7 separate regions of the Homo sapiens genome follow, and regions 2, 3, 4, 5, 6 and 7 are each linked to region 1. The links are contacts of gene promoters, found by promoter capture Hi-C in blood cells and fetal thymus (Javierre and others, 2016). All regions are on one chromosome and are shown on one strand. Each heading gives the region's core, a stretch centred on a gene start or on the middle of the fragment in contact. The rest is flanking DNA. Distances are from core to core; before and after follow the strand shown.

The links. Contacts are between HindIII fragments. The CHiCAGO score rates a contact against its expected background, and 5 or more counts as called.
Region 2: a contact is called between a fragment that was not itself captured here and the fragment with the promoter of GLRX in region 1, in 1 of 17 cell types (non-activated CD4 T cells). The highest score is 7.5, in non-activated CD4 T cells.
Region 3: a fragment that was not itself captured here is called in contact with the fragment with the promoter of GLRX in region 1 in 2 of 17 cell types (non-activated CD4 T cells and total CD8 T cells); the score reaches 6.1 in non-activated CD4 T cells.
Region 4: a fragment that was not itself captured here is called in contact with the fragment with the promoter of GLRX in region 1 in 2 of 17 cell types (total CD8 T cells and total CD4 T cells); the score reaches 5.7 in total CD8 T cells.
Region 5: a fragment that was not itself captured here is called in contact with the fragment with the promoter of GLRX in region 1 in 1 of 17 cell types (activated CD4 T cells); the score reaches 6.1 in activated CD4 T cells.
Region 6: a contact is called between a fragment that was not itself captured here and the fragment with the promoter of GLRX in region 1, in 2 of 17 cell types (activated CD4 T cells and non-activated CD4 T cells). The highest score is 6.0, in activated CD4 T cells.
Region 7: a fragment that was not itself captured here is called in contact with the fragment with the promoter of GLRX in region 1 in 5 of 17 cell types (activated CD4 T cells, naive CD8 T cells, total CD8 T cells and 2 more); the score reaches 7.4 in activated CD4 T cells.

The regions. Positions count from the first base shown.
Region 1 is chr5:95,820,967-95,824,301 of GRCh38, reverse strand. GLRX (glutaredoxin) reads left to right here and starts at 1,576. Exons shown (of 3, transcript NM_001118890.2): 1 at 1,576-1,846. The coding sequence starts at 1,640. RefSeq lists enhancers at 328-828, 1,059-1,148, 3,065-3,204. The HindIII fragment of the contact is 7,969 bases long and covers 1-3,335 here.
Region 2 is chr5:96,817,195-96,820,529 of GRCh38, reverse strand. It overlaps a transcript of ERAP1 not described here. Among named protein-coding and RNA genes, the nearest start is that of ERAP1, 11 kb to the right of the region's middle. The HindIII fragment of the contact is 1,041 bases long and covers 939-1,979 here.
Region 3 is chr5:96,800,683-96,804,017 of GRCh38, reverse strand. ERAP1 (endoplasmic reticulum aminopeptidase 1) reads left to right here. Exons shown (of 19, transcript NM_001040458.3): 2 at 75-615; 3 at 3,018-3,156. The coding sequence starts at 92. Among named protein-coding and RNA genes, the nearest start is that of ERAP1, 5.6 kb to the left of the region's middle. The HindIII fragment of the contact is 5,871 bases long and covers 1-3,335 here.
Region 4 is chr5:96,779,755-96,783,089 of GRCh38, reverse strand. ERAP1 (endoplasmic reticulum aminopeptidase 1) reads left to right here. Exons shown (of 19, transcript NM_001040458.3): 15 at 1-39; 16 at 1,236-1,397; 17 at 1,892-2,032; 18 at 2,586-2,667. Among named protein-coding and RNA genes, the nearest start is that of ERAP1, 27 kb to the left of the region's middle. RefSeq lists an enhancer at 1,519-2,718. The HindIII fragment of the contact is 517 bases long and covers 1,392-1,908 here.
Region 5 is chr5:96,762,162-96,765,496 of GRCh38, reverse strand. CAST (calpastatin) reads right to left here. Exons shown (of 32, transcript NM_001750.7): 25 at 3,125-3,223; 26 at 172-276. It also overlaps a transcript of ERAP1 not described here. Among named protein-coding and RNA genes, the nearest start is that of ERAP1, 44 kb to the left of the region's middle. The HindIII fragment of the contact is 226 bases long and covers 1,624-1,849 here.
Region 6 is chr5:96,741,794-96,745,128 of GRCh38, reverse strand. CAST (calpastatin) reads right to left here. Exons shown (of 32, transcript NM_001750.7): 16 at 2,373-2,474. Among named protein-coding and RNA genes, the nearest start is that of ERAP1, 64 kb to the left of the region's middle. The HindIII fragment of the contact is 523 bases long and covers 1,824-2,346 here.
Region 7 is chr5:96,721,217-96,724,551 of GRCh38, reverse strand. It overlaps CAST (calpastatin), which reads right to left. Exons shown (of 32, transcript NM_001750.7): 4 at 1,854-1,913. Among named protein-coding and RNA genes, the nearest start is that of CAST, 61 kb to the right of the region's middle. The HindIII fragment of the contact is 2,862 bases long and covers 392-3,253 here.

The sequences.
Region 1 (3,335 bases), core at 327-2,826:
CAGGCTGAGGGAACTTAAGGCAACAGCCTGAGGGCCCTGAAACAGACCCTGGACCTCCTGGCAGGGGCCTCTGGAAGGAGCCTGGCCACAGGGTTCTGAGGTAAAAGAATGAAAAAAGAGAGGAGGCTCAGACTCTGTGGCAGAGCCTACTTTGGAGGGAAGTGGGAAGTGGGAAGTCCGGAGCCCTGACCACGTGAGGGGCCTCCCAGCCCTGCCACATCCTTTTCTCTGGACAGAGCTGTCACTTAGCTCCCCCTCCGTGACTCAGAATCTGGCTTTCTCATTTTGCCATTTTAATTCTAGTAACGATGAGAGTCACAGTAAAAAGCTGCTTCTGGGAGTGGATTTTCTTCCCTTCCCTTGATCGCAGTATGCTTGGGATTCCTCTTACGTGGCAGTCGTGGTGTCCAGCTCTGGCCTTGGCCCCGCCTCTTTGAAGATACTCTGGTTTCACCATAAAACTTCCTGGGGAAAGGATGATTCACGTTTAAAGGACATAGTTTTTCCTTGATTTGTTTATTTAAGCTACCATACACTAGAGGGGGCCGGAACTAGACCCAGGAGTAGAGGACTTTGCTTTGCGGGATAAGGAGAATGGGCACCCTGGGGAAGAGCGAAAGATTTCCTACTGTTACAACCCGTGTCTTATAACACTTGAAGTGAATGTGGTGTCTGAGTTACAACACTACTTCCCCTCACAAACAGTTAAAAGCAGAGGGTCACAAACATAGGCTCAACCAGAAAAAAAGATTCTCATTTCATCTGTAGTTTTGTATCAAGGATTGTGTTGGAATTTGCCTCCATATTAAACTGCTGTTCAAGGGTTACCAACTCAAATGGTTATGGGGTGAAGCCGGTGTCTCAGGCATGGGCCTGTCGTTGGGACCTGTGGCAAACCAAAGCCACTACTTGCCCTATACAAAGGGGGCAACAGCTGTCAGCCCCAGCAGCTTCCACTAAAAGGTGCAAGCTCTGTATTGCCCGACCTGACTTTTCAGAGAGAAGTTTTAAGTCCGAATTGTTTTGTGAGACCTCCAGATTTTTAAATACTGAGAATGAATTCCATTAAAAAGATCACAACAACAAACACCCACCATACAGTCCAAGCAAAATGCTGTGAGAGCAACCTTCATGAGGAGTGCAAAGTCACAGTTTCAATTTCACTTCTTCTAAAGAGATTTCCAAGTGTTCTGTTTCTTAAGTGATTCTGTTTGCATTTTAAAATACAACTGTATCTCCTAGAGGGAAAACAAGAATTTGCTCTAAGAAGTCACTGCCTCCTCAGCCCCTTTGTGAGTAAGCACTTTATGCTTCCCCAGAGGTGACTAAACTCTGATCATTGCCAATGGGCAGGCACTCCCCAAATGTCCAAGGACAACAAAGATACCCAGAGTGTCTTTCATAGCTACCAATGATTAAATAGCAAGTATTGCATTCCTGGGCATTGCTAACTAGTGAAGTATACCAGATGGAAATGTCTTCGAAGCTGTCCCTTTAAAACTCGAGCAAGCTACCAGGCAAACTCCGCCTCCAGGGAGGTTCCTTATTAAATAGGAGCCAACTGGCTGGGTCGGGGCTCAATACCCCAAGCAATACCTGCAACTGAGGATTCTTCCCGGGGAGACCGCAGCCCATCGGCATGGCTCAAGAGTTTGTGAACTGCAAAATCCAGCCTGGGAAGGTGGTTGTGTTCATCAAGCCCACCTGCCCGTACTGCAGGAGGGCCCAAGAGATCCTCAGTCAATTGCCCATCAAACAAGGGCTTCTGGAATTTGTCGATATCACAGCCACCAACCACACTAACGAGATTCAAGATTATTTGCAACAGCTCACGGGAGCAAGAACGGTGAGTTTCATTTTAAACGGCTAGGGAAAGGCTCCCGGATTGCCTTTTCTTGTCAGAGCTGTGCCTTTCTTTAGGATAAGGCTGCGGCTCCGTACTTCAAGGCGTCCAGAGGGCTGTGCGGGGCGGGGGGTGTGGGGGAGGGCGCCTTAGAGAGGATCTCGGTCACTTGAATGAGCGGCGGCACTGCAGCCAAAGGTCTTCACGGGGCAGAAGAGGGAGTACAGCTGATGTCTGCTGTGCGGCAGGGTAAGTGGGACCAGCAGCTTGCCGGTGAGTCCCTGGGGAATTATCTAGAGTCTTTGTTTTAAGCACTGCCAGGAAATGACAGTTTTCAGTTGGCAGGGCTGGAGGTGGAAGCTGGGGTGGAGGGCCGGGTGTGATGTGTTTGTTATTTAACATGAGATTCATGTTCTTCATTCTTTTCTCTAGGCTTTCTTTTTCTAATTTGCTCATTCTTCCTTATCTAATTCCTCCCACTGGAAAAATCTAATGTACCGTTATCTGCCCCTTGTTCTAAATTAATTATGGATGTTTCCAGGCCCCACATTGTAGGGAATCATAGCCTGGAGTTCTGGCCTGGCTCTTATAATGGCTGGCTGTGTGATCCTGGGCAAGTCACCACCCCAGTAGTCCTCAAAGATCCCAGCTGCAAGACCAGATTAGGTGACCTCAGAGTCCCATTTGCTACGAATAGACTGTGGGACCCTCTAAAAATTGCTCTCCTCCATCCGAAAGACTTCCCTCTCTTCAGCATCCTTGGCTTTGCGTCCTGGGCTTCAGGAGGGATGCCAGCCACATCACCTGTATCAGTTCTGCTGTGAGGTGGGATGAGAAATGTCCCACCAGCTCAGCTAAGTTCTCTTTTACGATGCACGAATTCTACAGCACAGTGTTAGGCCAAGCACATATCCTATTTCAGTTTTAGTTTGACTTACAAGGTTGTCTCTGGGTTCTGAGTATAAAGCATTGGAGGTTGTTTCTCTCCCCTTCTCTCTAATAAGAAGTCAGCATTTTGGTGCAGAAAGGGGGCTTAGTGTGTTATCCTACTGCTGTGTGCTGAGGTCCTGGAGTATACACAATGACGAGAGAAGCTCTTGCTGCCTAGTGGGACCACCAGCTGCATAGGATGCCCAGGCCCTGAGAGGTGTAAAGGGCAGTGCAAACACTACTACGGGCCCCACTGTGGCTGCCACCCTGAGGACCTTTTAGCCATTGGTTCCCAAACTTTGCTGCACATTAGGATCACCTAGAGAGCTTTTAAAACAATCCTTATGCCCAAATTATGCCCCTCAATAACTAAATCACAATGTCAGAGGTGGGAGCCAAGCATTAGTTTTGTTTGTTCGTTTGTTTTGAGACAGTTTCATTCTTGTCACCCAGGCTGGAGTGCAATGGTGCAATCTTGGCTCACTGCAACCTCTGCCTCCTGGGTTCTCCTCAACCTCCCAAGTAGCTGGGATTACAGGCGCCCACCACCATGCCCAGCTAA
Region 2 (3,335 bases), core at 210-2,709, 1.0 Mb before region 1:
ACTAGTAACGTTTAGATTTCAGCAAACTTTTACAAGACTGTTTATCAACATTCAAATCTGAAGTATATTGTTTTTTCACATATTAAGGACCAGATCAGATCAGCAATTAGAAGTATGACATACAAAATAATCACCCTCAAGGAAGGTTTAAATTAGGGATGAATTTCCAGTATTGACGTTCCAAGCACCCTGCATATTCTTGCTACTAATTCTGAAAATGAGATTTTCTTTCATTTGTCTTTTTTTAAGCTATGTTGTTTGCTAAATGGCAAATAAGCAAATGCTGATTAGTTAGTTGCCAGATTAAATATATACTTGAGTATATATTTTCTCCCATAAAATGCAGTAAAATGATTTTTAGAACTTTGAGAGATCCTTTCAAGAATGTTCATGAAATTTTAAAGCTTTTTTTGCTGTTTCCGTTGAGATTTTATCACTTGAGAAAGTGAATATGCCTGTGATGGCAAATGGAGAACAACAGAATTGGGTTGGGATGTGGATTCTGAGTCATTGGCCCACATATGGGTGAAGTGACTCCTTCTCTTGCATCTGTTCATGTAACTCTAACCTACGTCTCGGCAAAATTATAAACTACCCAAGTGCTAGACCTTCAGGTCACACCCAAATAGTCAAAATTGTAAATATTAAATCCATAGGTGCTTGAAGTCTATTACACGCTCAATCTTTTGATGATGTCCTAAGAAATAATGACTTCACTCACAAAATACTAGAATACTGTGCTGAATATGCAGGGTGCTTGGAAAGATCCATGTCAATACTGGAAATTCATCCCTAATTTAAACCTTCCTTGAGGGTGATTATTTTGTATGTCATACTTCTAATTGCTGATCTGATCTGGTCCTTAGTACGTAAAAAAACAATCCTAGGAAAAGTGTTTGGTTTTTCAAACTTACGGTATAACAAGTTTTGAAGAAGCTTCAAGGCAAGTAAAGGAAACACACCTGAGTTTTGTTGGTAGAAAACATTTTATTTTCTCTCTCTCTCTCACACACACACAAACACACATACACAAACACACACACCCCTCTGGAGCCACAGGCTCTCCTGCCTTCCTCCTCTCACAGCAATTTTTCTTTGGTTCTTCCCCATTGTTAGTGAAATAGCTGGAACTCACCAGTCTACACCGCTGATGATTGTCTGTAGGATGAAAACATGATGATATGGTGGTAGCAGCTGTCCATGAGGCTTCTGACAAATGAAGCTGTTCTTAGAGAGTACTTACCTGAAATTGAGTGATGTTACAAAATCACTGAAATAAAGTCAGTTGGTTAGAAAATGCAGTTCAAGCCGGGTGTGGTGGCTCACGCCTGGAATCCCAGCACATTGGGAGGCCGAGGCGGGCAGATCACGAGGTCAAGAGATTGAGACCATCCTGGCCAACGTGTTGAAACCCCGTCTCTATTAAAAATATAAAAATTAACCGGGCGTGGTGGTGGGTGCCTGTAGTCCCAGCTACTCGGGAGGCTGAGGCAGGAGAATCGCTTGAACCTGGAAGGCGGAGGTTGCAGTGAGCTGAGATCATGCCATTGCACTCCAGCCTTGGTGACAGAGCGAGACGCCGTCTCAAAAATAAATAAATAAATAAATAAATAAATAAATAAATAAATAAATAAATGCAGTTCAGGTTTGGCTTCATTGGAATTTAGGTTGACCTCAATGTATGGGAAAGCAAAGAAATGTCACTTTTCTCATGGAACACAAAAGACACTACCTTCCTTTAAGTGAATAGTGGAATAGCAGGTTATAAGATTGAGACTGTGGTTTGTTTATTACAACTCTTAAAATTAAACGCTACTGATTCTCACCGCAATAAAACTATCTTTATCCAAGAGGGAGGATTTATGGCATGGATTCTGAATGCCTCGGGCGTTGAAGAAAGCTGGAGGAAAGAGGTAGTCCCAGGCCTTAATTAAGGATGAACTCAGAAAACCTGCACAACAAAAAAAGCCTCTCAAGCTTAGCCTCCTTTTCTTTCTTCTTTGGGGTTATTCTCTCAGCCATCACCCATAGCGGGAACTTAGCCATTAACTCTAGGGCCATATTTATATAGTGCTGGGAACATAAAGGAAAAAAAAAAAAAAAGAGGCTTCCCTGTTAGCTTCAGCCAGAACAATCCTGGGCTGGGAGTCTGCTTGGACTGGCTTTGCCCTTGGCCTCATCGCGGTGGCCAGAGAGTGGAGGTGTTGTGTTCATCTCAGACTGAGCCTGAGCAGTGTGATTATTCATTTACAGGAGGAAAGGGAGGTGTGTTGAGCAGGCAAAAGGGTTTTAAAGCCCCTGGAGACATTCCAAATATACCAAATGATAACTTGATTTTTGGCAATATGCTTCTGTCACAATGTTAAATATTCATCTCACTCCCAAGTGCCCCGTGTCTTTCATAATCTAAATCTACGATTGGTACCTCAATTATTATTTTTTGTTCTTAATTACAATCAATATTACTTGAGGCTTCCTCATGATTGCTTTATTTCTTTTTTATTTGTTCAACCTCAGTACAGTTTAATATTTATTGCAGATATTGGGACTGGCTCACTCAGCATCTCTTCCAAACGCTTTTCAGAATTTCTCACACCACTGCAGAGTCGGGAAAGCAAACACTTTATTTTCCAGACTCCTTGCTCCTAGATTCTAGATGTGCTTTAGGCTCTGCCAAACAGTAGCACTGGTGGGAGACTTGAATTTGGAATTGAGTTCGGTAGGGAGACAGGCAGCTCTTGAGCTATTCATTTTGTGGGGAAAGATTGTGGCACACATGGTATGGTTCTGGAGCCAGCAATTGTGGCAGAGGCTGCCCAATTTAGCAGATGGCTCCTGGATCATGGCAAGAGAAGCAGTTTCACTGGTGGCCAAGTTCTACATTGTGGTTTTGCGATTTGTTTCTGGAAGCTCAGTCTAGTGTATTTTTTAAGCCTTCCCAATGATTATGTAAGTCATGTAATAGCCTGCAATAAATCCTTTTCTGATTAAATAGCTTAGTGATTCTGTGCTCTGCCATTGAACCCTGACACAACATAGAAATTAGTTTTTAAAATGTCATTGATCTTTTTGATTGTGTTATTTTTCTTTTTCTTATTTATAATTGCATGGATACAAAACATGAAATGAGGTTGGCATTATTTATTGCTTTGATGAGCAGGTGAATTAGATGATCACAGTTGCTAACTGATGCTTGGTTAGTTAGACCCATAGGAAACACCTGCTGTGGTTCAACAAGCTGAGGCTGGAGGTCTTCCATTGGCCCCTATAGGTCCACTCCTCACCCTTCTCTATCCTGCTCTGTGCCCTGGGACTGCCTAGCAGGAATGGCTTTC
Region 3 (3,335 bases), core at 571-3,070, 980 kb before region 1:
ACATTCTGAAATTATGCTGTGTCAATAACATTTTAATGACATATATTTTTGCTTTTGTACATTTGTGCCGCTAGGTAGGTAGAGCAAGAAGATGGTGTTTCTGCCCCTCAAATGGTCCCTTGCAACCATGTCATTTCTACTTTCCTCACTGTTGGCTCTCTTAACTGTGTCCACTCCTTCATGGTGTCAGAGCACTGAAGCATCTCCAAAACGTAGTGATGGGACACCATTTCCTTGGAATAAAATACGACTTCCTGAGTACGTCATCCCAGTTCATTATGATCTCTTGATCCATGCAAACCTTACCACGCTGACCTTCTGGGGAACCACGAAAGTAGAAATCACAGCCAGTCAGCCCACCAGCACCATCATCCTGCATAGTCACCACCTGCAGATATCTAGGGCCACCCTCAGGAAGGGAGCTGGAGAGAGGCTATCGGAAGAACCCCTGCAGGTCCTGGAACACCCCCGTCAGGAGCAAATTGCACTGCTGGCTCCCGAGCCCCTCCTTGTCGGGCTCCCGTACACAGTTGTCATTCACTATGCTGGCAATCTTTCGGAGACTTTCCACGGATTTTACAAAAGCACCTACAGAACCAAGGAAGGGGAACTGAGGTATTTTTTTTTCTCTTTTTCTTTTAAACTGCAAGTGCTGCCCACGCTAAATTCATTATTTCAGATTGATTGTCTTTTAAAATTCCCTTTGCTGTTGAACTTTTTCTTCAGTTTTGCTTTTGCATCTTCTTTATAGTGTTAAAAATGGCTTTTTCCCTTGCTTTTTAAATCTCATTTTAAAATTCTATTTTAACCAATTTTCTTTCCCCCAGCTCTATCAGAGTAAATATCTATTTGTTTATTTGGTTCGATTTCTGAGACATAATAAACATGTTTAATTTTCCTGAACTGTGTATTAGTTTCCTAGGGCTGTTGTAACAAAGTACCACAGACTGGGTAGCTATAAACAACAAAATGTATTCTCTCTCAGGTCTGGAGGCTAGAAGTCTGAAATCAAGGTGTCAGCAGGCCCGTGCTCCCTCCAGACTCTGGGTAGAATCCTTCCTTATATCTTCCTAGCATCTAGTGGTGGCCGTGGATCCCTGGTACTCCATGCCTAGCACCTGCGTCATTCTAGTTTCTCCCTCTGTTAGTCGCATGGCCATTCTATTTTCCTATGTCCCAGTCTCCATCTTCTTATAAGGAAACCAGACATACCAGATTAGGGCCCAGCCTGGTGGCCTCTTCTTCACTCCATGATACTTGTAAAGACCCTATGTCCAAATAAGGTCACATGCACAGATACTACAGGTTAGGACTTCAGCAAATCCTACTAGCAACATATTAGAGGAAATACTTTTATCTCAGTTAAAACTTTTTTAGAGATCTCTTCTCACCTTGCTTTGGTTCTGTTTTTAAGGAGGAGACTTATTTGGGGGAGATTTTATGCTCAGTTTTAAAATGGAATTTTATTTGTTGGTAGATTATACTAATTTATTTTTCAAATTCCATATTATTTTATCAAGGTAAGAAAGTAAAATTTATTTCACTCATAGCCCCCTGAACTGACCACTACTTCTATTTCACTGGAATATTCTGCCAGACTTCTTTCTGGATATGCATATATATTATTTTATATAAATAGAATTCTTATATTTTCTCTTTTACAAGGAAATTTTTTAACTTAATATGTTGGGAAGATGTTTTATATAAATGACTATTACTAGACATCTTTTTAATGATTTTATTAAAATACATAGTTGTACATTAATATCTTTAATCCCTCGGGAATGGAAATGAAATTGTTTCCAATTTTTCAGTATCAACAACACTTTGATGAGCATTTTTGTAAATTATTTCTTTAGAATAAATGCCTAGAAGTAAAATTGGTAAGCCAAAGAGCCTATAAATTTTTGATAAACTTTGTCATTTTTTCTTACCCCTCACCAATAGTGTATATTGGCAGTCTTTTTAGAGCAAAAAAGGTCCCCAAATAAATGATCTCTTTTTAATTTACGTAACTTTGATTAAGGAAGTTGAGCAGCTTTTGATATGTTTGTTAATGATTTATAGGTTCTTCTTTTATGAATTGCCTGTTAATGACCTTTGACTTTGCCTGAGATTCCCTTGGTTGTTGGGGATTTTTTTTTTTTTTTTTTTTTTTTTTTTGTCGAGACGGAGTCTTGCTCTGTCACCCAGGCTGGAGTGCAGTGGCGCGAACTCGGCTCACCGCAACCTCCGCCTCCCGGGTTCAAGCAATTCTCCTGCCTCAGCCTCCTGAGTAGCTGGGATTACAGACGCGCACCACCACACCCAGCTAATTTTTGTATTTTTAGTAGAGATGGGGTTTCACCATGTTGGCCAGGGTGGTCTCGAACTCCTGTCCTCGTGATCCGCCCGCCTAGGCCTCTCAAAGTGCCAAGATTACAGGTATGAGCCATTTTTAGGATTACATATTTTTAGGATCTCACTATCTGTTAAGGCTATTAAGTTTTCCTCACATACTTCTTAAATGAATTTTCCCTGTTTTTTACTTTTTCTTTTTAACTTTTTTTTTTTTCTTCCCGAGACAGGGTCTGGTTCTGTCGCCCAGGCTGGAGTGCAATGGCGCAATCTCAGGTCACTGAAACCTCTGCCTCCTGGGCTCAAACCATCGTCTCACCTCTGCCTCCCAAGTAGCTGGGACTACAGGCCTGCACCACCATGCCTGGCTAATTTTTGTATTTTTGGTAGAGATGGGGTTTTACCATGTTGCCCAGGTAGGTCTCACACTCCTGGGCTCAAGTAATCCTCCCACCTCAACCTCCCAAAAATGTGTTAGGATTACAGGCATGAGACACCATGACCATGCCCAGTGTAACTCGTCTTTTAACTTAGTTTATGATAGCTTTTGTCAGATGAAATATTTTTTAGTAGCAAAATCCATCAATCTTATAGTAACTTTAGGAATTAAAAAGCAAACACCTGTTTTAGAGTTCCTGGTGCTTCATGCTCAATTTTTATTTCACTTGCCTTAATTTTAGGATACTAGCATCAACACAATTTGAACCCACTGCAGCTAGAATGGCCTTTCCCTGCTTTGATGAACCTGCCTTCAAAGCAAGTTTCTCAATCAAAATTAGAAGAGAGCCAAGGCACCTAGCCATCTCCAATATGCCATTGGTGAGTCTGCACTCCTGTGTATTTTCTATAGGAAAATCTACTGATTCTCTGTGACTTGCACTAGCCCAGTGACAGTCAACATTGGGTCACCTGTTTTGTTTTATTGCCTGGCAGATCGTTACTAACTTTTCATTTATAACCTATGCTTTTGTTTCAAGCCATAGTTATATGTAATCAAA
Region 4 (3,335 bases), core at 401-2,900, 960 kb before region 1:
CTATTTCAGAAAGTGGAAGGAATCCAATGGAAACTTGAGGTCAGTCCTTACTAAATAACCAATTTGTTGATGTGAAGGGCATCTTTTCTGTTTTCCATCATTGGTACTAAACATTAGGGAAAACAAAAAGTTTAAGTGTCTCCCCTGCTGCCCTTTTCTGGAAAATAAATTGCTTTTTAAGATTTATCTATGTATCTCGTAACTTTAAGAAATGCTAGGAGGGAACTTCTATGCATAAAAGTCAAATATCTGGGGAGTTAGGATGGTATGGGAATAATTCTCATTTTGTATAGGCAATGCAAAATCTTATTAAACGGTGACAGCCATGCCATAGAGAAACACATGCATTGTATTTTATAGTAGTTTCTTTGGGCTTCCAAATTCCCTGACAGGGATGCATAGTAATTGCTGACACTGTCTAAGCAAGGTAGGATTTTACCGTATCTGGAAATCCCTATTCTTGCTACACTTCAGTCCTTTTTACATTTGGAGCTTAAACCCCACCCAGGAAACATTTATGCCAACAACCTACATGCTTCAGCTTAAAGAAATCCAAACAGTGGTCCTACTGCCGTCCTGACTTGTGATCATGGTGTAAATTTTGAATATAGTTTGAATTTCTTTTGGCTTGAAAGGTGATCCCCTATGGAGTCACCCAGCATCATTAAAGTATTTAAATATGTAGGTATTTATAAAAATGGCATTTCACATTTTTGAGAAGGCTACTTAAAACCTAATTTTAGATATTTTTCTCTTGCCTTTTTTTTATAAAGTGTAACTAGGCCAGGCGCGGTGGCTCACGCCTGTAATCCCAGCACTTTGGGAGGCTGAGGTGGGTGGATCACGAGGTCAGGGGATCAAGACCATCCTGGCTAAGACGGTGAAACCCCGTCTCTACTAAAATACAAAAAATGAGCCGGGCATGGTGGCGGGCGCCTGTAGTCCCAGCTACTCGGGAGGCTGAGGTAGGAGAATGGCGTGAACCCGGGAGGGCGGAGCTTGCAGGAACCGATATCGAGCCACGGCACTCCAGCCTGGGTGACAGAGCAAGACTCCGTCCTAAAAAAAAAAAAAAAAAAAATTGTAACTGAAGGAAATCAGTAGTTTTTGTTTATATTTCCAGGCATGCTTCTCTGATCATGGGGAAAGTTCAGCAGTTCATAGTTAGTCACCATTATGCCTCTAAACATACTTACTGCACCTCAGATTCTCACCGAGTGTGTTCCTTTCTATAGCCTGCCTGTCGACGTGACCTTGGCAGTGTTTGCTGTGGGGGCCCAGAGCACAGAAGGCTGGGATTTTCTTTATAGTAAATATCAGTTTTCTTTGTCCAGTACTGAGAAAAGCCAAATTGAATTTGCCCTCTGCAGAACCCAAAATAAGGAAAAGCTTCAATGGTGAGTCCGTCATTCATTCATGTTCATGTGGCCAAGGGAAATTAGATTAGATTAGATCATTCTGGCATCTATTTTTGTTTTCTTGGCCAGGAATTGCCTATCCTGCTGGGAACATACTGCAAGTCAGCACACATCTAATGAGAAAGGCAAATAATTAGGGAGAACCAGGTGTTAGGAAAAATATTTAAAGGTGTATACATTTGTGCATCTTTAAAATGACAACATATTAAAAATATTTACTAGAGCTACTCTTCCTTAACTATTCTTTTGAGCAAATGAGAGGGTATATGAGAATGGGTGTTATGAACACTATATAAATGTTAGTTTTTATTATGTAGCTATAGTGGGTTTATCAGGATTGTGGTTACCCATTTATCTTTTTAACCTTTGTTACTGGCAGACTTTTTTTTCTTTTACAAGTAATTTTATTGCAGTGATTCATAACTGTTTCATCACCTATTCATTGCTAACATTTCTTTTCTTAATCCTTCTAGGCTACTAGATGAAAGCTTTAAGGGAGATAAAATAAAAACTCAGGAGTTTCCACAAATTCTTACACTCATTGGCAGGAACCCAGTAGGATACCCACTGGCCTGGCAATTTCTGAGGAAAAACTGGAACAAACTTGTACAAAAGTAAGTGGTGCCAAAAATTGTGCTGTGACTGGATAAGTTCATAACCTTACTGTGTTTTAGCCTTGCTGTTTGTAAAAGAACAGTAACAGTCTAAAGGTACTTTTTGATTGAAGATAGGCAGTAGAAATACCTAAAATATTTGTAGAAAACATAAAACTGGACTTCAGTGCTAACTAGTGAATCTGGACAGGGATGTTTTCCATTCCATCTGGCATAACCCCTTCCTGAGCCCATGGACATATCTGAAGCCTTCCTCCTCACAGTTCAGCCCAGGCCTTCCATGAACACATTTGCTTGTTCACATCTGTCTTTGTCTAACTCTTATAGCATTTCCTGCTTCTGTCATTTTCTGTTGGATACTTAACCTTTTATTAGGCTGTTGGTGTGTATTATTCTTTACAGCTAGATCTTAACCCATTGGATAGACATCATATTTTGTATTTTTCACACCGATCAGTTTTTAGCTGAAAGCTATTATATATAGGAGGCCCTTAAAATATATGTTAAATGAATAAGTATTTCACAACCCGTTTTTGAATATTTCCCTCTCTAGGTTTGAACTTGGCTCATCTTCCATAGCCCACATGGTAATGGGTACAACAAATCAATTCTCCACAAGAACACGGCTTGAAGAGGTAAAAAAAAAAAATCTATATATATATTTTTAAACATAAATGAAAATTAGCTAATTAATATGGGGTAGACAAAATACTTTGAGGGTGTGGTGAGTTAGAAATGGATTGTCATTTAGAAGTTATTTTTGGATGCTATGGTGTTGACAGCAGCATAAATCAGTTGCAATTAAACTAGTGAAAACTGTGCCTCTTCTCAGACACGTTAAGAGGTCTTAGCTCTGCCAGTAAAAACCTTAGGACTTGAAGAAAATTACTTGAGACAATTAGTCCTTGTTTAAGGATGTTAAAAGTGGGCACTGAGGTATAAATGACTGAAGTGGTCATCCAGCTGTTGCTAAAGAGGCAGGTCCGGAATCTAGGTTCTTTATAAACCATCCAAGTTCATGGTTCCCTGTCACTTATTATGTAACCATCTACCTTCAGAAAGAATTTCAGGCAGCTTTAAGATCCATGTATAAAAGAAATGTTAAAATGAAGGACAAAAAGATACATAATGGACAGGTGATAACCATGTGAGGGACTTATGGCTGAGGATAATTCTCGCAATTGTCCCCTGAATTTATCACAGACATTCCTGGAAGTCAAGGAAAAATGAGGAATCAGTATGAGTTATTCTCATTGTCTGGTAAAAGAGAACATGAAGCATACACATTTTCTACAAAAGCAGA
Region 5 (3,335 bases), core at 487-2,986, 940 kb before region 1:
TGACCTTCCCCTCCAGTGGAGTACAGATTGATTTTTCTATTTCATTATAATTTCATGTTTAAAATATAGGTTAAGTTCACATCAATATTCCTATGACAATGACAGAGTCAAGACCCAAGGATTAAAATTTCACTATTAGTGAATTTTTTTTTTTTTTTTTTTTTTTTTTACCTTTACTTTATCTTCCATTGGTTTGTTCTCATCTGGGTCAGGCTGCCTTTGTCCTAGACTGTCAGAGAGTTTATCCAAGGCATCATCGAGGTCTTTGTCACTCTGCTGAAAAGTAAATAATGCTGAATTAGTCACTCATTAGCCAAACTGTATCAGAGGCAAATTAGCCCAGGAACTCCATCTTTTCAGGAGGGAACCTGTTTCCTTGGAAGAAAAAGACATCTGGGGCTGGGGCAGGGGAGTAGACAGGGTCAGAGAAGAGAAGCCTAGGAATGGAAGATCAGGAGAAGAGCGGCAGTATCTGTCACCCTACTGGGGTTGGAGGGCCAGCACCTTCCACCCAACCCTGCCCATCTCTTGGTGAAGATCCCACCAGGTTAAGGAGGTCTTAGTGGCAGCCTCAGGAGCCATATCCAGTGGGTGACCTGGAGGTCACATAAAGGGTCCAAAAGCAAATGAACCAATCATGTGTGCCTTTCATTTAGAAATTAAACACCATTAGAAAACTGGATATGAAAACAAACATCTACTAATGTTGTCAGATGGTTAGGAAGCAAGATTCTGCAACTATAGAGGGTAAGTGTTTCTTTGGTTCTGTGGGTCCTCTCTAAAACTCTAAGATCTTGAGGGGTGCATTTCAGAAAGTGCAGCGTGACCCGCAGTTTGTGGGAAGCCATGGAGCTCGGCACTGCCATCCTAATACTTCCTAAAGCACAAAACCCCAGAGACAATCTGGGGTCAGGAGAGTGGAAGGGGCTTGTCTGCCACACTGGTGATGAGTGCCCTGAAAGACTTCAGAGAATTTCTGAACTGGTGGGGAAACCTCTCTTTTCATCTTCAGGAAGCTCATGGAAGTGAAATTGCAGAAATGGGAGCTGGTATTCTAGAGGAAAAAAATTATGGACAACAATATCACTGTAACTAAGATAGCTTATTTCCTCTAACATTTATTTACTGTATGATTCAGGCAGCTTATTTAACCCCTTTCAGCTTCAGTTTCCTTGGCCGTGAAATGTGAATAATAGTAGTACTTATACTCCTAAGTTGCTGAGAAAAGTAAATGATTGAAAAGGCATTTAAAACAATACTAGTTGTATGTTAGGACCCAACAAATGGTAAATTATTATTAGTATTATTATAGCAAAATCCATATTTTTCAACACATTGCATTCAAAATTCCACCTCTAAATGAATTCAATTAAAATGTGTTTAATATCTACATTGTATAAGACACCATGCTGAACTCTGTCCAATACTGTATAGAACTTTCCAGTTGATTTTCAAAATGTTTTCACATACACTATCCAGTTTTATTTGATGCCCACAATGGTTCTCAGTGAACTAAGCAGGCTTTTTTTTTTTGAGGTAAAAAGCTCAGGGAAGCTAAGTCAGTTGCTTGAAAACAAATTGTTAAAAAGTGAATAGAACCCAGGTCTTGGGACTGATAAAGCTTTTCCCTGTCATGCTTAGTCACATCCATGATCTTCTATTTTCTTTGAAGCAGTTTTCCTGTTGGAGTGATTTTATTACACAGATCTTTGAAATCATGTCTTCAAATGCTTTCAGTGTATGTAACACTGTTAGTAACAATCTAATAATCACAGCAAAGAAAGCTCCCGTGAATTATCATGGTTTATTTGACTCTTCGATTTCCTAATATTTTTATCTAAATAAAGCTTTATACCTTGTTTTAGTGACATCTTCAAATAAAATGTTAACTAAAAACAAGCCTCTCTGATGGGAAATGTGATCAGAGAAGTGTCATTGTAAAACCTACTTCTTAAAGGCAAAAAAGTTTTTGATTGCAAATGTTTACTGATAGCCTTCATCAGGGCAGAATCTCTGGCCTGAATATTAAGAACTGAAGTGTAAACGGCAGCCTAGGCTATTAATGATTCTTCCTTTCTGTTGCATGGGGACTTTCTTCATTGTGGGTGTGTTTACATACACACATGCACATGCACATGCACATACACACACACGGGGCATTTTACTGGTTTTAAGTGCTTTATTATAATCCAGGATTATAGCTGCTAATGGTAGAGCTGCCCGGGGCCAGGTCTGGGCTTTGTCATTTGTGCCTCTGGATATTTTCAGATGATCCTGAAGCTGACGCAACAGGATGAAAATCCATCAGAATCTCAGACTACAGCACTAAATATGCTTTGATGCTACATCAAACGGAATGGAAGCATAGCTGACTTCGCTAAAGTTACTTCATCTCCATCTAGCAAATGAGGCACTGTTCTCAACCAAAGGAGATGGGGATCTGGTTTAGGGCAATCCCTTTATAATTTGATGTGCTGTGGTCTCCTTGGTAATGTATAATTTGGTATTGCACAGGTGATTAGTCAAGGAAGTCTGGAAAAGCTTTGGTCCCACAGCCTTGCCTCACAGCATGTAAATAATTAAAACAATATTGATGCTGAGGTTCTTCTACTGCTAGTATGAAAGTGACAAATTTTTACTGGTGTGAATTGGGAAGAAAACAATGCTATTCCATGACGTTTGTAAAATGTTTGTAAAAGCTCAAACATGACGATTCCATAAAATAAACTTGAGGTTAAATAATGGGTAGTAAATTATAGAATGTATAAGAAAAAATATAAAGGAGAAAATCAATTATCAGGAAAGCTAAAGAACTTTTCAAATCTAGTAATTTGAATATAGACACAATGCACTTTATTGCACTTTCAATTCTTATAAAGCAACAATAATATTAAGGTCCTTGACTATGTGTACAATGTTTTCACATATATAGTTTCATTTAATCATTTCAAAGTTAATCTCTGCCATCTCGCTAAATCATCAGTCTCGGCTCTTCTGAAATAGAAGGTGCCTGATCTTCCTAATAATTCTGCCTATTTTCATTTGCTTTAAACAGGCGCCCTATTTTCTTTCTAGTTGTGGCTGCGCAAAAACATTTATCTCCCAAATAAGATGTGCTGCTTACCGAGGTATCACGGGGTGGGGCTCCAGCTTGGGTCGTTGAAGCTGGGGTTTGGGAAACCACTTCAGAGATGGCAGCAGCAAGTTTAGCATCTTCAAATTTCTTTTATTGAAAAAAATTTTATTAGTAACATGTTGTATATAAAATTATGAGCACAATGCCATCACTTAACTATAACTCTTAAAGATAGCTTAATGACTGTTTATTCTCTTGA
Region 6 (3,335 bases), core at 836-3,335, 920 kb before region 1:
CATCCAGGGTCACCTGTATTAAGACGGTCCTCCCCACTAATCTCAGGCTGTGGACAGTGAAAGTTACACATGCGGCCAGAGCTTTTATTTTCCTCTTTGATCTTTATAGTCTTGAAATGCCTGCTCTGGTTTGTATACAGTAGGCATCGAAAAAAAAGAGCCTACTGAATTGAAATGGCACTAGACTAGGCAGCCACACCTAAAAATGTGGGAGACTTATAATGGGCTATCATTAGAGAATAAAAAACTTTTATTTTATGTTATGGTAGATGATGGGAATACCAAGTAGGCATGGGTTTCCTCTCTGGAGTATTGTGTGGTTTTCCACAGATAGCTCTCTATTCTGGGGTATGCTGGGGTGGCAGTGGACACTCCTACAGGCTGACAGTGACCTTCCTGAGCCTTCTCATCACATCAGACTATCTAGGATGTAAAGGACCCACTAAGTCGGGTACTAAGAATTCAGGTTAATAATCTAGAGGACTGAAAGATCCTCTTTAGAAACATTCATACTTTGTATATGATTAAAAAGGAAAACTAGTGATATGCTTTGGCTGTGTCCCCACCCAAATCTCATCTTGAATTGTAGCTCCCATAATTCCCACGTGTCGTGGGAGGGACCCAGTGGGAGGTAATTGAATCATGGGGGCGGAGCTCTCCTGTACTGTTCTCATGATAGTGAATAATTCTCACTAGATCTGATGGTTTTATAAAGGGGAGTTCCCCTGCACATGCTCTTTTACTTTCCTCCATGTAAGACGTGACTTTGCTCCTCATTCACTTTCCACCGTAATTATGAGGCCTCCCTAGCCATGAGGAACTGTGAGTCAATTAAACTTCTTTCCTTTATACATTACCCAGTCTCTGGTATGTCTTTATTAGCAGCATGAGAACAGACTAATACAACTATTATGTCATAAGAGTGGAAAAGAGGAGTTCTTTTTGCTGGAATTTTAGTTTGCTGCGACTCTGAAGTTTTCTAGAGGGAACTTAATACATTCATATGCATTCCCAAACTAGTTACCCACATGTTTAAATAACTTATTTTATGTCACTTTTTTTCTTAACATCTGCTTATCTGCTTTTAGTCACTTTTAAGACTCCTTTGATCCTGAGGTTTATGACATGTTTATACCCTCCCTTCCCACATTAATTGTCTCTCCTTAAGTGTCTGTAAGAAGCTTGGGGCAGAAGTGCAATATACTTGTGGCCCTGTCGCCCTCAGGTGGTAAAGCCACAACTCAGCTTGGCCTCCTGACTCCCCCCAGGATTCTGCCAACACCCCGCTTTCCTCAAGATGACACTGCTTCTGTCGGCTACTCTAAGTAATGTATATCTCACATTGTGTTGTAATCAAGTTTCCCTTCTTCCCAATACATTACTTGGTCCTGGAAGATACGAACTGCTTCTCTTGCTCCTCTGCGTTCACCGTCACAAAGCTTATCGTGCCACACTGTGGCCGGTGAGCCCTCCAAGAAAGTCGAAGATAGAAACTGGCCCATCTTAGGCCAGGGCAGTCCCAGACTCAAGGATTGTTGCTGGAAGTCAGGGAGACTCCCCTTCCCTGATGACTCAGAACAGGAAGTGACAGCAGAGATGGGGCATTGTGACAGCAATGCCTGCCAGCACCCCCAGCCTGAGCTGATGGAGGTGGGGCGGGCTCCTGGGGATCCCAGGCTACCTTTCCATCTCCCCACAACACTGCCTTGTCAGGAACCGGCAACTCTCTCCTTTCCTTCCTCTTTCACCCCAGAGGACTGAGTTGAAAAATTCCACAAAAATTATAATTTAATATTAAAACTTTCGTACACCAGATGTAAGCTTGTTTTGGTTCAGAAGGCTTGTTAAGATCTTGGAGTGTGGCGGGATAAACACTCATCAGCATTATTCTATAAATATGCAGGAGCTCTAGTTAGGGTAATTGTTGCTTGATTTTAATTTGAGACAAAATTTTCAACATCTTTCCCCATAGTGATAAATGAAGGATCTTCCCACTCCGTGTATAGACATCTCCTTCTCTTATAAACAGAAGCACCCAGAACCCTTCTGAAAATACAAATTTCCAATTGCCAAACTTCACTATTTCCCACCAGGCATTGCCTCCTTGTTACCTTGTTTAGTCAAGGGTCATTTAAGCTCTAGCAAGGGAGATTCGTGTTCATTTCAAATGTTAAAATTCTAGCTGTTTCACAAGTCAGTCATGTAACTATCCCCCTTAGTTGCTAACCACTCAGCAATAAATAAGGCACAATGAAGAATGCTCACTTTTACTCTCCAATAAAAGTTGTGCGAGAATTCTAAACATGCAGAGTGCATTCGGTTTTGTAATGTGCAGACTAACAAGCTTTGTAAATCAACTCTAAGGTCAGTACCTCATCGACTTCCTTAATTGAGCGGAGGTCGAGCTCAGGTTCTGCTTGCCGGGTGCCCAGTGAAGCCGACAGAGCCTCGAGTGCTTGATCACTCATTGTATCCTGTTAAAAGTAAAAAATCCTGTGCATGAAAAAAGACATCTCTGGAGCCCGAACAATCCATTTACTTCTTTGTAAAATACATTTTAGATTATAAACTGAATATGGATTGGGGAAGTGCTCTAGAAAGGCAATTTTATTTGAAACCTTGCAAAAGAGAGAAAGGAAAAAGAACTTACCAATGAGTGGAAATTGGGGCTAAGACACGTTTCTACAGTAACAGCGTTCTCTGGGGCACACTTCACCCCTTATTTGGTAAGCTAGACATAAAGCTATAGTAATATTACTATAAAATACTCTAAACAAACAAAAAAAAAAGAAGCAAGTAGTAAACTGTTACCACACTATTTTTCTTTTTCTAAAAATGTATCTCTAAAAAGGCTTCTGACAACCTAAGCTTAGGAAGCAGGGAAGCTTGAAGTGGCCCCTGCTGCCTTCTTCTCTGAAGGCACAATGGCTGATCGTTGTAGGAACTCCCACTCTCAGGGGTGTGGTACTCACCACTGTTCCCCAGCCTGCCAGATAAAAATAAACTGTCCACTCCAGGAGGGGAGAGGCACAAGCTGCTCTGATAGAAACCGTTCCTGAGCATTATCTTGACTGTTTGCAGAGGAGACATGTGTTCCCAGCCAGCACAGAGCTGCAGGATTGCCTTTTGCGATTTGTGAGAATTATGTCATAGTGAAATATAGTTGAGAATGCTGGGCAGTACCAGCTACTTGGTGTCCCTCTAGTGATCCTCAGGGCTCAAAGTCCTTTATACAATCAAACTTGAAGGTTTTATGTTCCAAGAGTGCAATTTCTCTGGTTTCTGCCCTTCTGTGTATCATAATGGTGAGATGGTCTTAGATGATGACTGAGACA
Region 7 (3,335 bases), core at 573-3,072, 900 kb before region 1:
GTCTTAATGAGAACTTTTATTTTGTAGATGCTTCTGGAATATTTTTTAAAATTAGGATTTTTAATTTTAGGCTGGACACAGTGGCTCATGCCTGTAATCCCAGCACTTTGGGAGGCTGAGATGGGAGGACTGCTTGAGCCCAGGAGTTTGAGACCAGCCTGAGTAACATAGCAAGACCCCTGTCTCTACAGAAAAACAGAAATATTAGCCAGGCATGGTGGTGTGCCCCTAGAGTTCCAGCTACTCAGGAGACTGAGGTAGGAGGATCACTTGCATCCAGGAGGTCAAGGTGGCAGCAAGCTGTGATCATGCCACTACATCCAGCCTGGAAGACAGAGCGAGACCCTGCCTCAAGGAAAAAAAAAGATTTTTAATTTTTTAAGATTAAGCTTAACATAATTAAATAGAGACAGCTAACATTAATTATAGATTATATAATGTATATTTTGAAAGCAATTTAGAAATCAATGTAAATTTAAATACTAAATTTAAAAACTGATAATTTTAGATTAAAATTTTAAATGAATGCTAAATGACATAAGAACTTAGATGTGGATAGTGTATTTCTAGATATTTGTAATGTTCTTTGAAGATGATTCAAGATGAGGCCATATAATCCTTTGATAGTACTAAGTTATAGTGCCACATCACCTGGGATAGGAAACTACAGGGATAGCATAGTAATATGAAAGACAGAAAACAAAAGTAGGTTGGTAATTTTAAACAAGGGCAATTTAATAATAATGGAGTTGGGGTAGCTCTTAAAGGTATTAAAGAATATTGGCACACAAACATTAGTTGAGAGAATTTTGAAAATGCTCCCTCTTTAATTCCCTCCCCTGAAATATTCCCAAGAGATACAGCTTGAGCTAGAGTAACTTAGGGAGAGGGTTTAAAAGGCAGCTGCAGCCAGCTCTTCAGAACAAAGTGGACAATACCACTAGAGGAAATTCTTTTATTTTTAATTCTGAAATTCAAAAAAATAATTTTAAGAATAAATCCCAAATAGAGCTCAAGAAAGGTTTGTCAATAAAATGGTACCCCACAAGACTCAAATTTCAGAAAAAACAACTTGGGAAAGCATCCGAAATAACCAGTATATTTTTATGTTCATTTAGTATAATCTTTCATTTTTATATTTATTTTTAAGTGCTCAGAATAGTAAGACCATTTTAGCAAGAATTAATAATTTATATTCTCATTTCAATGTAGAGAAATGTACTTAGAGGAATATCTTCAATTAAAAAACTCAATCAAATCTAGGATCAAAAACAAAAACAAAACTGGCCACGGGCACGGTGGCTCATTCCTGTAATCCCAGCACTTTGGGAGGCCCAGGTGGAAGGACTGCTTCGGCCCAGGAATTTGAGACCAGCTTGGGCAACACAGTGAGACCCTGTCTCTACAAAAACAAACAAACAAACAAACAAACAAAAAAACAATTAGCCGGGCATGGTGGTGTGCCTCTGTAGCCCCAGCTACTCAAGAGGCCGAGATGGGAGGGTCGCTTGAGTCCAGGAGGTTGGGGCTGCAGTGAGTGTAATCACACCACTATACTCCAGCCTAGGTGACAGAGCAAGACCCTGTCTCAAAACAAAACAAAACAAAACAAAACAACTCTAGGTGACTCTACTTTTCTAGATAACCTAAAACCATGTAGATGATGTGTAAGGTAAATATTGGAAGGAAAGCTGAGTTTTCAAAGACCCCCATAAATTAGGAAGAAAATGTTTACTTCCATAATTAAAACTTCCTAGCATATATAACTCATCATCAACAATTAGTCTACATTTGTTTTGCTTTGCAGCACAATCAACTTAAATTAGCACTCACTCAATTAGCATTCTTCATACCTTGGTTTCTGTGGGATTCATACTGGAAGACTTGCTGGTTGCACCAGAGGAAGCTGACACCTAGAAAGGAAAGAAAGAAATAGAAAGTTCGATTCTATTTAACCTACAATCTACATGGTCCTTCAGCTCCTCTTAACCATACTGCCCTTGGCCCTTTACCTTGGTTTTACCCAGTTTAGAGCACAAAAATCTAGTAGGAGGTGGTGTCCAGTAGTGAAAGCCTTTGTAACCAGATCAAATAGGTTCAAAATTTGGGTCTGCTATTTACTAAACAATCTCGGGTAAGATACTTAAATTTTATAATCTCCAGTTTCCCAACCTCAATTTTTCTTTAGTAGTTAACAACTACCTTGTAAGTTTATTATTAGAATTACTCCCTGGCACATAATGAATGCTCAGTAAATATTATTATAATTACTGTTTATGTTATTTTCAGAAAAAACATGGATTTTGCAACTCAACAAAATTTTGTTCAAGCCCCAGCTCTGTCAGTTACAAGCTCTGTGACTTTGAGCTTTGTCTTCCAGGTCCATTTACATACAAAGTACAGTAACATCTATTTGCAGGGTCGTATTTGAGATAGTGTGGCAAAATGTCTGGCAAATTGCAGATGCTCATTAAATTGCCAGTGTGTTATTCCTAATACATAAGATAGAAGGACAAAACTCCCGTAAATAGACTTGGGTGGATGTGAACTGTCCGTTCAGTGTCATGTAAGAAAGAGAAGGTGGAGACAAGGTTACAGAGGGAATTCTACTGCATTATGTCTCATCTAGGCTCTTCCTTAGAAGGCAAGAGGTGATAAATAGTAACTATTCAAGGAACACCCTTCCTTGAGATGCTTGCAGTGGTGCAATCAGCCCCTGTGATCCAGTCATCTAAGTACTGGGATGTGTGTGTGGATACTTGTATGGTTTGGAGTACTATTCTAGTACTTAACTTGTATTACACTGGTTAATATTAAACAGATAATTATAATCTTTGCAAACTCCTACCCAGACTCATTTAAACCTCCTTAACACTTAAAGTCCATTAGGTTTTAGAACCCAGGGATTCCATCTGGCATGAGCTGCCTTCTTAAGTAACTGACTGTCAGTAAACAGCTGCTACCCTGCCAACAACACCCAGGGAAGGAAGCCTGTAAGATGGACCTCACTGTGTCCCTAATGCCTGGTCCAGAGCCACTTCAGAGGCTGAGTCACAGGGCAGCATGAGCCCATTCCTGCTTCTCCCTTACCTTCCCCCACCCCCAATACACTACCACTCAAGGTGATTGTATGAAACCCACTATAGTCTATGGCCCATGAACAAAATCACCTTCCCCACAAACCTCAGTTAATGCAGAACACATTGATGCTTGTAGTTAAACTATCATAATTTACAGACAGAAATCCAAAGCTTTAGTATACTTATTTTTCAAAAATAATCATATAAACATAACTATTCCTGAGAACCCTTAGGCACCAACTGGACACTCCCTTC